Linked DNA regions of Homo sapiens: all the other regions are linked to region 3. Evidence: promoter capture Hi-C in 16 types of primary human blood cells and fetal thymus (Javierre and others, 2016). All regions are on one chromosome and are shown on one strand. Each heading gives the region's core, a stretch centred on a gene start or on the middle of the fragment in contact. The rest is flanking DNA. Distances are from core to core; before and after follow the strand shown.

The links. The method cuts DNA at HindIII sites, captures the fragments that hold promoters and counts their contacts. A CHiCAGO score of 5 or more calls a contact.
Region 1: a contact is called between a fragment that was not itself captured here and the fragment with the promoter of INSL6 in region 3, in 1 of 17 cell types (naive B cells). The highest score is 5.6, in naive B cells.
Region 2: a fragment that was not itself captured here is called in contact with the fragment with the promoter of INSL6 in region 3 in 1 of 17 cell types (naive B cells); the score reaches 6.7 in naive B cells.
Region 4: a contact is called between the fragment with the promoter of ERMP1 here and the fragment with the promoter of INSL6 in region 3, in 2 of 17 cell types (naive B cells and total B cells). The highest score is 7.8, in naive B cells.
Region 5: a contact is called between a fragment that was not itself captured here and the fragment with the promoter of INSL6 in region 3, in 1 of 17 cell types (naive B cells). The highest score is 5.5, in naive B cells.

The regions. Positions count from the first base shown.
Region 1 is chr9:5,795,268-5,797,967 of GRCh38, forward strand. ERMP1 (endoplasmic reticulum metallopeptidase 1) reads right to left here. Exons shown (of 15, transcript NM_024896.3): 13 at 2,550-2,665. Among named protein-coding and RNA genes, the nearest start is that of ERMP1, 36 kb to the right of the region's middle. The HindIII fragment of the contact is 2,635 bases long and covers 45-2,679 here.
Region 2 is chr9:5,755,637-5,758,336 of GRCh38, forward strand. It overlaps RIC1 (RIC1 partner of RAB6A GEF complex), which reads left to right. Exons shown (of 26, transcript NM_020829.4): 16 at 576-736; 17 at 1,677-1,815. Among named protein-coding and RNA genes, the nearest start is that of ERMP1, 76 kb to the right of the region's middle. The HindIII fragment of the contact is 1,917 bases long and covers 438-2,354 here.
Region 3 is chr9:5,184,377-5,187,076 of GRCh38, forward strand. INSL6 (insulin like 6) reads right to left here and starts at 1,263. Exons shown (of 2, transcript NM_007179.3): 1 at 938-1,263. The coding sequence starts at 1,226. The HindIII fragment of the contact is 2,408 bases long and covers 1-1,645 here.
Region 4 is chr9:5,831,750-5,834,449 of GRCh38, forward strand. ERMP1 (endoplasmic reticulum metallopeptidase 1) reads right to left here and starts at 1,368. Exons shown (of 15, transcript NM_024896.3): 1 at 941-1,368. The coding sequence starts at 1,278. RefSeq lists silencers at 935-1,154, 1,235-1,454. The HindIII fragment of the contact is 2,395 bases long and covers 187-2,581 here.
Region 5 is chr9:5,778,128-5,780,827 of GRCh38, forward strand. It overlaps a transcript of RIC1 not described here. Among named protein-coding and RNA genes, the nearest start is that of ERMP1, 54 kb to the right of the region's middle. The HindIII fragment of the contact is 1,726 bases long and covers 403-2,128 here.

The DNA.
Region 1 (2,700 bases), core at 112-2,611, 610 kb after region 3:
AAAAAACGTATAGCTAACAACATACTCAGTGGTAAGAAACCAGAAGCTTGCCTAGATCAGGAACAAGGCAAAGATGTCCCCTCTCACAACGCCTTGTCAAAATCAAACTAGAAGTCCCAGATAATGTAACAAGTCAAGAAGTGGAAATAAAAATTATAGATATTAGGAAGGAGGAAATAAAACTGTCTGCAGATGATAAGATTGTCTATTCATAGAATCTTAAAAGAATAGGCTGGGCGCGGTGGCTCACGCCTGTAATCCCAGCACTTTGAGAGGCTGAGGCAGGCGGATCACAAGGTCAGGAGTTTGAGACCAGCCTGGCCAACGTGGTGAAACCCTGTCTCTACTAAAATTACAAAAATTAGCCAGGTGTGGTGGCGGGTGCCTGTATTCCCAGCTACTTGGGAGGCTGAGGCGGGAGAATCACTTGAACCCAGGAGGCAGAGGTTGCCGTGAGCCGAGATCGTACCACTGCACTCCAGCCTAGGTGACAGAGTGAGACTGTCTCAAAAAAGAAAAAGAAAAAGAAAAGAAAATCTTCTTAAAGAATAAACCAAACAAAAACAAAAACAAAAACAAAAACAAATCTCCTAGATCTAATAAGTGATTATAGCAAGGCTGCAGGATATGAGGGTAATAATCTGAAACTCAGTTGCTTTCCTGTAGACCATCAATGAACAATACCATTTATTAATACATTAGCACCCCCAAAAATAACTACTTAAAAATAAATCTAACAAAATATATATAAGGATTCTATAAGGAAAACTACAGAACTGATGAAAGAAATCAAACAAGATAAAAATAAATGGAGGGATATTCCAACACGGATAGGAAAAGCCATTATTGTTAAAATATCATTTCTTCCCACCTTGATCTACAGACTCAATACAATCCCAATCAGAACTCCAACAAGTTATTTTGTGAATATTGACAAACTGATTCTAAAGTTTACATGGAAAGGCAAAAGACAAAACACAATTCTGGAGAAGAAGAGTTGGAAGACTGATACTACCCAACTTCAAAACTTAACTATATAATTACAGTGATCATGACAGTTGTGGTATGGGCAAAAGAACAGAGAAATCAGTCAATGGAAAGAACAGTTTGGCAGTTTCTTACAAAGCTAAACATAGGCTTACCATATATAATATCCAGCAATCACACTCCTAAGCATTTACCCAAATGAGTTCAAAAACCTGCCCAGGAATCTTTATAGCAGCCTTATTCAAATATGGATAACTGCTGTACATCTACACAACGGACTATTCAGCAATAAAAAGAAATGGCCTATCAAGTCACAAAAAGATATGGAGGATCCCTTAAATGCATACTTCTAAGTGAAAGAAGTCAGTCGAAAAAGGCTACATACTCTGTGCTTCCAGCTATATGATACCTGGAAAAGGCAAAGCTACAGAGATAATAAAAAGACCAATGGTTGCTAAGGAGAGTGGGAAGAAAAGAGAGATAAATAGGTGAAGCACAGGGCATTTCTAGATGGTAAATCTATTCTGTATGATACTGTAATGGTAGATACATGGCATCACACATTTTTCAATACCCATAGAACTACACAACACGAAGAATGAACCCGAGTGGGAACAACAGGCTTCGATTAATAATAATATATCAGTGTTAAAACTGGTGCATCAGTTTTAACAAATGCACCATACTAATGCAAGACATTAATAGAGGAAAATCGGGGGGCAGGATATGAGAACTCTATAATTTCTACTTAATTTTTCTGTAAACTTAACATTGCTCCAAAAAATAAAAATAATTTTTATTTTTGAGACAGGGTCTTGCTCTGTCACCCAGGTTGGAATGCAGTGGTGCTATCAGCCTTGACCTCCTGGGCTCAAGTGATTCTCCCAGCTCAGCCTCTCAAGTTCTCAAGTAGCTAAGACTACAGGCATGCACCAACATGCCCAGCTAATTTTTTTTTTTTTAATTTTGTAGAGACGGGATGTCACTATGTTGCCCTGGCTGGTCTTGAACTCCTGGGCTCAAGCAATCCTCCTACCTCAGCCTCCTGAGTAGCAAGCATAAGCCACCATGCCTGGCCTATTAAATTTTTGTTAAGAAGTCATAACCAGCTTTGGCCGGGCGTGGTGGCTCATACCTGTAATCCCAGCACTTTGGGAGGCCGAGGCAGGCAGACCATGAGGTCAGGAGTTCAAGACCAGCCTGACCAACATGGTGAAACCCTGTCTCTACTAAAAATACAAAAATTAGCCAGGCATGGTGGCACACACCTGTAATCCCAAATACTCAGGAGGCTGAGGCAGGAGAATCACTTGAACCCAGGAGGCGGAGGTTGCAGTGAGCCGAGATCGTACCACTGCACTCTAGCCTGGGCGACAGAGCGAGACTCCATCTCAAAAAAAAAAAAAAAAGAAGTCATAACCAGCTTCAATTGATTTTAGAAACATCACAGGCTCTTCCTAAGTTGCTGGTTCCTGTGATATATCTGAGGGAAAAACATACATGCCACTTATTAACAAGTTTAAGAAATAAAGGAGGGGAGAAAAAACTATTATATGACTTACCTGTTGCTTCAAAAGTCAATTTTATAGAATCCCAAGGTGTCTGTTCTTTGGATATGAGTCGGAAATGAGGAGGATTTCTTGGAGAAACTTCTGGGGCAGGAAGATACCAGTTTTTCCTATTTAGAAAGGAAGCTTCAGTTTTAGGGTGCTT
Region 2 (2,700 bases), core at 146-2,645, 570 kb after region 3:
TCTAGGCCAGGTGCAGTGGCTCATGCCTGTAATCCAAGCACTTTGGGAGGCTAAGGCGGGTGGATCACCTGAGGTCAGGAGTTCAAGACCAGCCAGGCCAACATGGTGAAACCCCATCTCTATTAAAAATGCAAAAATTATCCAGGTATGGTGGCACACCCCTGTAATCCCAGCTACTTGGGAAGCTGAGGTGGCAGAATTGCTTGAACCCGGAAGGCGGAGGGTGCAGTGAGCCGAGATCATGCCACTGCACTCCAGCCTGGGCAACAGAGTGAGACCCCGTCTTTAAATAAATAAATAAATAAATAAATAAATAAAGCAGGTCTAAAAGGAATATTTTATAATAGTACATTCAGTTTTGATCACTTCATTTTTTGCTTACTCATAGAATGAGCCTAGTCTGCAAAAATATGTAAACATAATCCATTTACTGTTAAAGCTTAGATAGTTCTTTTAACTCCTGTTACTAAAAAAAAAAAAAAAAGTCGGAAGTTAAAAACAGCATGTTTAAAGTATTTGGTCATCCCTAGTAGTTATCTTGTTTTTATAATTTTCTTCATTTTTGTTTTCTTCAGCTTAGAGTATACTTGCGAACATCAAATCTGGACAATGCCTTTGCTCATGTCACCAAAGCACAAGCAGAAACATTACTGCTTAGTGTCTTCCAGGACATGGTAATAGTATTTAGAGCAGACTGTTCAATATGCCTTTACAGTATTGAAAGAAAATCTGATGGGTAAGTATCTGGCATATGAGAAGTCACTTTTTGCTCCTATTTACCACGTTTCTCTTTTGTAGTTTTTGTTTTCTCAAAACAGTTATTCCACTTTTATATTCAATCTTGTTTTTGTTAGAGGTAAAAAAAGCAAGGAGTTTTAATTAGTGATATTGATATAATAGCTAAAAAAAAAAGAAATATCGTACACTAACTTCTTTAGCTTATCTTCCTGGAGTCATTTGAAAAAAATCTAGTTTGGGATGAGGTAAACCCTTAGATACTAAATTTTTTTTCACAACCTTGAAAATAAATGGTTACTGACTCTCCTGGTGCTCTCGATACTTGGTGGGAATTTGAAGGAGTTCTACAACTTTAAGACTGTAGGAAGCATGTCCTTAGCAAACTGACTTATATTTCCACTGAGCTAGATGGCTGTAGTCTGGGGCAGTAAAAAATCAGCAGTGTTGTTGCTGCTGCACGTTGCCTTATATTTGTCTTGGCATCTGGTCTACTTGCAACGTATTTAGACCACACCTCTTGAGTTTTATTTTTGTTCTCAGAGGTTAATTGAAGTATGTATTTACTGAAACAGCACAGTGATTGAGAAGTAATGCAAGATAAAAATTAAGACATCTCACTAGCCTCAATGATTGAACCATCATTCTTTCTCAACCCACTAGTTTTTTCCACTTAAATATTTGTATTCTTATAGCTTCTTCCCTAGTTTTCGTCTTCCCTCCTATTTGTTACTCCCTTTCTTTCTCTCTCATCCCCATATACTCTGGTTCCCCTCAACCTTGCCAACTTCCTGATCGAAGGATATATGGGGAGAAGATGATAGGTAGTAAGACATCTGAGTCTTCCATAAGCATGAAATCTAATACTATTACTAGTGGAAAAGAAAGAAAATCTTATTAGCATTGTTGTTGAGGTATGTGGGTTTCTTTTGTTTTTACAGTCCAAATACTACTGCTGGTATTCAAGTTCTTCAGGAGGTTTCCATGTCACGCTACATTCCTCACCCTTTCCTGGTGGTATCTGTCACTCTGACATCAGTGAGTACAGAGAATGGAATCACCTTGAAAATGCCACAGCAGGTACCACTCCATTATCAAAGGTCTTTGGAGTTTACATTTCTGTTTTTAGTATTTGAGTCCATATTAGGAAGTATTTGTTTGGCAAATAAATACTAAGTGTCTAAAATGTACCTTATATGAGAATGCTGGGTTGCAGTGGCAAATTAAAAAGACATGGTTTCTGCTCAGGCATTAAATAAATAATTACATACATAATGAATTGTTCCTGTTACGTGTACCAAAAAGTAGTACACATTACTGTGAGAGCATTTAACAAAAACCTGTTATAGTCTGAACAGTCAGAGATTTCTGTATCATTTAAATTAAAACTAGGAGAATAAGTAGAAATTATCCAAGTTAAGAGGGGATGGATTTTCAGGTGGAAGGAACAGTAGTGCAAAGGCCCATAGACAAGGCAGAACATGACACACTCAGGGAATTGGAAGAATTTTAGAGTGACTGGGACATGGAAAGTGAAAGAGGATATGAGTCTTGTAGATAATATTGATAATTTTAGACTTTAAGTCTAAAGTGTTTTAAGGTAGGTATTATTAGATCTAAGCTTTATAATGTTTACTGTAAGGAGGAAAATGAACTGAAGTAAGACAAAACTACTGTAGGGAGAGCAACTGGGAGGTCATTGTAATGATCTAGGTCAGTGGTGTTCACAGTCTGAACTTGGGCAGTGAAAAAGGATATGGAAAGAAGTAGAATGAGTATAGAATAGCAAGGGCTTTATAATTAGTTAATTATGAGGAAAGAGAAAGTATAATCCCGTAGTTTCTGGGTAAAGTAACAGGGTAAGAAGTAGGGCGACCAGGACCCACGTTGCATAACTTTCTATTTCAGTGGTTTCTAAACTTCATGTCAACTGGGAACCTACTGTCAGAGGAAAATTCTATGTGG
Region 3 (2,700 bases), core at 13-2,512:
ACAAATCATACTGGGACTAAAATGTCTTAGTCACAAAATGTAAAAACATAGTAAGATATACCAATGAATCTGGAACAAGAATATCCTTCCTGCAGACTGCTTGAAAGCATCAAGTATAAATTCAGCGCATATTAAACACATGCGATGTGCTAGGCCATCTGCTAAGCATTTCAGACAAAAATATGCATGAAATAGTCCCTATAATACAGTATGGTATATAGGGCTGACTTTATGGGACTGAAACCTATGTAGTCACACAGGCCTTGCATTTGGTTTAAATGTTCCTTTGTTGTTCTGAATAAATTTACCTTTGAAACTTTAAGTGAATGAAATACAAGTACGTAAACTCTTAAATGAAGCCTGATAGGAGAACGGACCAGGCCTATCTCCTGGTACGTGACCAGGGGATATGGACAAGTAAGGAAAACAGTTTTATATTTTACTACCTTTATTTTCATGGCCCTTTCCTGCTTTTTTGAACAAGGTACTCTGCATTTTTATCTTCTACAAGGTTGGGCTGATTCTGTAGCCAATGACGACAGTCAAATACAACTATGTGCTAGATACTGTGGTAGAAAGGACAATGGAGCCATTGGCCATGAAAAGGTCAATGATGACTTCACAGGGAAAATGATACTTAAGTTGGGCTTTGAAGGACAAAAAGGAGTTTGCCAGATGACTGGCACTCCAGAAAAGAACAACATTCTTACATAAATATGTAGACTTACAAGTGTACATTTATTTCCTCCAAGTTAAAAAAAAAAGCGCTTCATTGAAGTTTTGTATATTTTCAATACACTGTTTTTTACAATTTTTTAAAGAGCTGTGTACTAGGCACAAATTCCACTTCCTGGGGAAGCTCACCTTCTGGCAGAGCAAATGCAGGAATAAGAAATATACAGAGGTGAACAAACATGCCTTCGGTTTCGATTTTTACCTGGGTTTGTGCCTCTTCCCCGGGCCGGGGAAGCGGTTTGCGGGCTTTCGAACTGGTATGGGCTGTAGGCTTCGACCTTCTCCGAGGCCTGTGCAATCAACCGTGAGAAAGGGGTTTCCTCCTCGAAACGGAACTGGCTCCAGTTGGCATGGCCGCAGAGTTTTTCTATTTCTTTCACCAAGTACCTGCCGCACAGCTTCCTGGCACTGCTGATGTCGCTCAGTTCACGAGAAAACCGAACCAGCAGGAGTCCAAGCCACAGCAGGGACAAGCGGAGGAGCCGCGGCATCCCTGTGACCCCAGGCTAGTCCTCCGCGTTGTGCAATGGCGGTCGGCCGGACCCTGCTCCCTGTCTGCGCCTGCGCCAGGCCGAGCGGCGCGCACAAACACTGCGGAATTCCGAGCGCGTGGGGGCGTCGCCAGAACTTCAAGGGAAGGCGCGCGCCGGCTGCGTCAAGGCTTTCCCGCCAGCTCAGGGGTCTCAGGTGGTCGAAGGTAGCAGGCCCTGGCTCCTAAAATGAAAGCCAAAAATCCCCTCACTACCCCGCCACCCCCTAGTTTGATTCATTTTTCTTTCCTTCCTCAATGGGAGATTCCTCACCAAGCGTGAGAACATAGGATCCCTGTTACCTGATAACGTAGGTTAAAAAGTGTTGCTCCCTCCACCTGGAATGCGTTTCTCGTTCTTGTTTGCCAGGTTGTTAATAAAGCTTCGTCTCCCTCACAGAAACCCCCTGTCATCTCTTTCACGGTGTTAATCGACCTGTTTCCATTTGTGGGCGTGTAACCTCTTTCCTGAGACCCCCGCTTCATGAAGGCAAGGGCCTGCGTCTGTTCTTGCTTTCCATCGTACCCCGGGATCTGGCATTTAGCTGGCAATCAAATATGTGGTGAAACGTTTAAGTGTTGCATATGGCCATGTGCGTTTAGTCAGGTTCAAAGCTTCTTCAGAAAAATCCTACTGGTTCACAGGGAGGCATGGGCCTTAGCCTCAATCTCCAGAAAAAAGAAGTAGGGACGCTGTCTTGAGGTACCTGGGATGGAAATCTGGTTCTTTCGGTTAGATAATGTAGAGGATTGTGTATTACCAAATTAACTTGTGACAGGGACCCCTAGAGGATTTGCCTTGTAAGAATAACAGCATGCAGCATGAAATGCTCATTTAGGTGAGATAATTTTGCTCAGTTAGGAGGGAAGGGGCAGGGAAGCGAAGCGCAATCGGCATAGGTAGCTTTATCATTTTAAATGAAGTTCTGTGTTACTAGTGTGTTGGCGTGGAAGGATGTACTATCGGCCACAAGAGGGCATTCGGTGGCTGTCTCAGGAATAAGGTTCAGGATGCTGAAGCCACAGGTGCAAGCTTATCAGTGATCTCACCATTTCCCTATACAATTTTATTTTTTTCTCCCTTTCTTTTCTGTCTTCTGACTCTATGTCTTTTTCTTAATTTTCCGTTTCCCTATCTTTTCCCTGCTTCCCAGTGGCATCCATGAATGCTGTTAAATTAACTGCCAATTGGATTTTTTAAATGGTTGATATAATATAGATTAGTAAAATTTAATCACCTTCCTTAAAAAATAACTTATGTCCAAACTATAGTGGGCCATGAGTCCTAGTCAGAACTTTATCAGGTAAGGTTTTTGAGAACGGAAAATATTAATCATACTGAGATGAATGTAAGCCTTGTGGTAACCACAAGGCAAAACCTATAGTAGATATATAAAAGATAAAAAAGAAGAAATCAAGCATACCACTACAGGATA
Region 4 (2,700 bases), core at 118-2,617, 650 kb after region 3:
AGGCGGGCGGGGGAAACTTTTGATGGACCTAGCCCTCCTAGCATACACCCAAGGTCTAATAACTTCAATTCAGGCCAAAACCAACTGTACCCCTAATGAAAACAAAACTGTTTTTGTCTTTTCACTGCATTCCAAGTGGGGAAAGCTGGAAGTGGGGGTGGGAGACGTTTCAGAAAGTCCTTAATAAGCTTGCAACACTTTGCATTCTAGCAAAAACTTTTTAGAACACAGTAGCTGTTGAAAACTTGACGCCAGCTTAACACTTCATGAGCTTTGACACACCTGGGTTACAATATCTTTGACTTAATCACCTTTCCTAGCATTCTTAAAGGTCTTAAAAAAAAAAAAAAAAGTCAAACCTTACACAGTCACTAATCCAAGGGGCCTAAAGATAAACTGCAGGGATCTGAGAATTTATCAGACTGCATACCAAATTTTGACTGGGCGGTGTTCCAGAAAGAGTTTCTATAGCCTTCAGATGTGGGGGCTGTAACCCTCAGAAAGTTAGAACAGTGCACTAGCGCCTTCCAAAACTCCCCGCCCCCAAAGCGAATTTATACAACAGTCTAGGTACACAAATTTCCATCTGGAAAGCAGAAGGGCTAAGCAAGGTAAAAAGGGGAAGCTGTTCCAGAATATGGGGAGACGACTCACAACCAACCATCTGCACGAAGGGCAGACAGTGGAAAGCAGGTTCAATCTACCTGGCAACCCCAATCTGCACCACGAGCTTAACCGGGGACAGGCAAGCCCCAAGTCCCGGCAATTCAGACCCCAGAAGAAGGACAAGCAAGGTCACCCCACCCCACGTGCAGCCTGGGAGGGGTCAGCGAGTCCCAGCGGTCCGGCAGGGGCGGGTGCACACAGGTGCGGTGCCCCGGAGCCTGCGCAGGAGCCGCAAACGGACGCGCGGGCCGTGCCAGGAGGGAGCGGCCGGTACCTGGCTTGGAGCGCGTCGAACTCCCCGCGGTGTCCAGCGGCCCCGCGTAGCACGAGCTGCTGCAGCGAGAGCTGCACCAGCGTCCGCAGCGCGATCAGGTAGAGCGCGAGCCCCAGCGCGGCGCGCACCTCAGACAGCCCGGTCCCCGCGCCCCTGCTCGCGCCGCCGCTACCCCCGGGGCTCCTCTTCCGCGTCCTCCCGCCGCCGCTGCACCCATCCACCAGAGGCTCCTGCGCTCGGGCCTCCCTCTCCGGCGGTGGCGCGGCCGCCGCTCCCTCTCGACGCTCTACTCCGACGCGGTGCCGCCTCACAGCAGCCGACTCAGAACCCCACTCCATGGCCACGAGCCTCAGCTGCCAGCCCAACCGCCCCAACCCGCGACAGCCCCGGCCGCCGCCGACGCCGCCGTCGCTGCCGCAGCGCCTCCTAGTGAGCGGACGGAAACTGCAGAGGGCCAAACTTCTTCTGATTGGCCCGTCCCGCCGCGCCAAGACCCAGCTTCTTTGGCAGTTCTCGGGTGCACACAGCTGCAGGGCCGACCCAGCAGCGGGTGGTGGATATGCCGTCTCCCGCAGGGCTTTTCCAGCCCTCTGTAGGACGGAGATTGCCAAATGTAAAGACACCTAAAAACCCAAAACGAGAAAAATGAGAGATCGCTTTTGAAAGAACACACAAGGCTCTTACAGTGCATCAGGCAGATGAAAAAAGCAATGACCTGGCTTTCGTAAGGAAGGAATATTAGAACATCAGGCTCCAAAAAAGTGGGTTCCTGGCTCTTAAAATTAGAAATAAGATTACGCAGAGGAGGCCCGGCCTATTGCTTTCACATGCATAATCTAATCAGATCTTCATAACTCAGCAACTTAATCTGTGCTATTACTGTCTCCATTTAACAGATAAAGAAAAATAATGGCTATTATTTATTGAATACCTGCTATGAGCTAAGCGCTAGGTCAAGTCCTTTAATACATCATCTTATTTAATTATCTTTAACAATACTTAAAAGGAAATATCTTTGTTCCCATTTTATAACCTGAGAAACGTAGAGATAACAGATGAAGAATGTAAATCTAATTTCATGGGCTCCCAAAACAGCATTCTGTTCCACTACTACATTAGCACTCTGCAAGTGAAGGTTCAGAAAGGCCATTCTTCACTTGACGACTCTCTGGGGCGGTTAAGCAGCAGAGCCTTGGTTTCAGTGCAGATCCTAGTGATTATCTAGTCTTCTTCCAGCTTGCCGGTACCCATGAGCCTCTCTGCTCCAAGGTTTTTTGTCCCTAGCTTGGAGTTGCTACATTAGCATGAGCATTAACCTAGAGACCAACTGGGAGAGCACACTGCCGGATTTTGACTTAGCACATATGTCAGATTTCATACAATGCCCTATAGTCCTGCTCTTGCCCACCTCTCAGGCTCCTCTGACACCAGGATGCTTCTTATTTCCAGCTCTCCAGCCACACTGGCCTCTTTCAAAGACTTCCTGCACGCATCTTTCCTTCTACAATAGGATCTTCTCACATGCTGTTTGAATTACCTGGAGTGTTCTTCTCTCTCCTCATTGTCTTTTTAACTCCTAGTTATCCTTTAAATCTCAGATTAAGTGGTACTTCCTCAAGCAAGAATCTCCTAATTTAATTAAGCTTGCTTCCCCTATTTGTAGGATCTCACAGCACCATGTTTGCATGTGACTATTTCATAACTTCCTCATTAGACTGTAAGCCCCACGAAGGCAGGAATCAGGTCTGGTTTTACTCACC
Region 5 (2,700 bases), core at 16-2,515, 590 kb after region 3:
CAGTGGATTATAATTTTTGCTAAGTCTCATACTTTTGTTAGATTTATTTCTAAGTATTGCTACTGTAAAAAAAATGGAATTTCCTGTTTTTGGATTGTGTATATAAATACAATTGCTTCTGTATATTGACATTGCATCATGCAACATCAAACTTTTTCTTTTTTGTGGATTCCTTAGGATTTTCTACATTGAAGGTCATGTTGTTTGCAACCAGAGATAGTTTGAACTCTTCCTTTTCAATCTGGATGCCTTTTCTTTCTTTCTCCTGCCAAACGGTCCTGGCTAGAGCCACTAGTACAATGCTTATTAGGTGGCAATAGTGGATATCCTTGTCTTCTGATCTTAGGGAGAAGCTTTCTCTCATCACTAATTATGATGCTAGCTGTGGGTTTTTTATTGATAAGCTTTATCTGGTTGAGGATGTTGCCTTCTGTATAGTTTGTCTTTTACAAAAATCCAAATCCCTTCCATGATAAAAACACTCAACAAACATACATTGCATCTACTGAAGTAGTCATGTGGTTTTTATCCTTTATTCTATTAATATGGTACATTACACTGATTTTCAAATGTTTTTGTTTTAAGACAGAGTTTTGCTCTGTCACCCATGCTGGAAGGAAGTGGCGCAGTCATGGCTTGCTGCAGCCTCAACCTCCTGAGCTCAAGCCATCCTCCTACCTCAGTTTCTATAGTAGCTGGGCCCACAGGCACACACCACCATGCCCTGCTAAATGTTGTGTTTTTAGTAGAGTCAGGGTTTTGCCATGTTGTCCAGGCCAGTCTCAAACTCCTGGGCTTAAGCAATCCACCCACCTTGGCCTCCCAAAGTGCTGAAATTAAGCATGTGCCACTGCACCTGGCCAACTTTCTGTTAAACCAACCTTGCATTCCTGGCATAAATTCCATTTGGTCATGCTGTAGAGCCAAACTGGAGGAAAAAAAAAATTATTACCAACATGTTATGTTTTTACAAGTCAAATATGGAAGTAGAAGTGTCAAAAAATACACTGATACACTCCAAAAATCCCTACGTATTTAAACTAAAAACAGACATTAAGAGCCATAACTGGGATTGCTGGCAAGATGGCTGAATAGGAACAGCTCTGGTCTGCAGCTCCCAGCGAGATCGACACAGAAGGCGGGTGATTTCTGCATTTCCAGCTGAGGTACCTGGTTCATCTCACTGGGACTGGTTGGACAGTGGGTGCAGCCCTGTGAGGGTAAGCCAAAGCCAGGGTAGTTCGTTGCCTCACCTGGGAAGCGCAAGGGGTCGGGGAACTCCTTCTCCCAGCCAAGGGAAGCCATTAGGGACTGTTAGGGACTGTATCTTGCAATCCAGCCCAGATACTGTGCTTTTCCCACAGTCTTTGCAACCCGCAGACCAGGAGATTCCCTCCAGTGCCCACGCCACCAGGGCCCTGGGTTTCCAGTACAAAACTGGATGGCTGTTTTGGGCAGACACAAAGCTAGCCGCAGTTTTTTTTTTTCATACCCCAGTGGCACCTGAAACACCAGTCAGAACCATTCACTCCCCTGGAAAGGGGGCTGAAGCCAGGGAGCCAAGTGGTCTGGTTCGGTGGGTCCCACCCCCACAGAGCCCAGCAAGCTAAGATCCACTGGCTTGAAATTCTTGCTGCTGGCACAGCAGTCTGAGCTTGACCTGGGATGCTCCAACATGGGGGGAGGGGCGTCCACCATTGCTGAGGCTTGAGTAGGCAGTTTTACCCTCACAGTGTAAACAAAGCCACTGGGAAGTTCAAAATGGGCGGAGCCCACTGCAGTTCAGCAAGGCAACTGCAGCCAGACTGCCTCTCTAGATTCCCTCCTCTCTGGGCAGGGCAACTCTGAAAAAAAGGCAGCAGCCCCAGTCAGGGACTAACAGATAAAACCCCCACCTCCCTGGGACAGAGCACTTTGGACAAAGGGCAGTTGTGGGCGCAGCTTCAGCAGACTTACTTAAACGTCCCTGCCTGGCAGCTCTGAAGAGAGCAGCAGATCTCCCAGCACAGCATTGGAGCTCTGATAAAGGACAGATTAACTCCTCAAGTGGGTCCTCCCAGTAGGTGCCAACAGACACCTCATACAGGAGAGCTCTAGCTGGCATCTGGCGGGTACCCCTGTAGGACGAAGCTTCCAGAGGAAGGAACAGGCAGCAATCTTTGCTGTTCTGCAGCCTTCACCAGTGATACCCAGGCAAACAGGGTCTGGACTGGACCTCAAGTCAACTCCAGCCAACCTGCAGCAGAGGGCCTGAATGTTAAGAAGGAAAACCACCAAACAGAAAGGAATACTATCAACATCAACAAAAAGGACGTCCACTCAAGAGAACCCAGCTGAAGGTCACCAACTTCAAAGGTAGATAAATCCACGAAGATGAGGAAAAAACAGCAAAAAAAGGCTGAAAATTCCAAAAAGCAGATCACCTCTTCTCCTCCAAAGGATCACAACTCCTTGCCAGCAAGGGAACAGAACTGGACAGAGAATGAGTTTGACAAATTGACAGAAGTAAGCTTCAGAAGGTGGGTAATAACAAACTCCTCCAAGCTAAAGGAGTGTATGTTCTAACCCAATGGAAGGAAGCTAAGAACCTTGAAAAAAGGTTAGATGAATTGCTAACTAGAATAACTAGTTTACAGAAGAATATAAATGACCTGATAGAGCTGAAAACAACAGCACGAGAACTTCATAAAGCATACACAG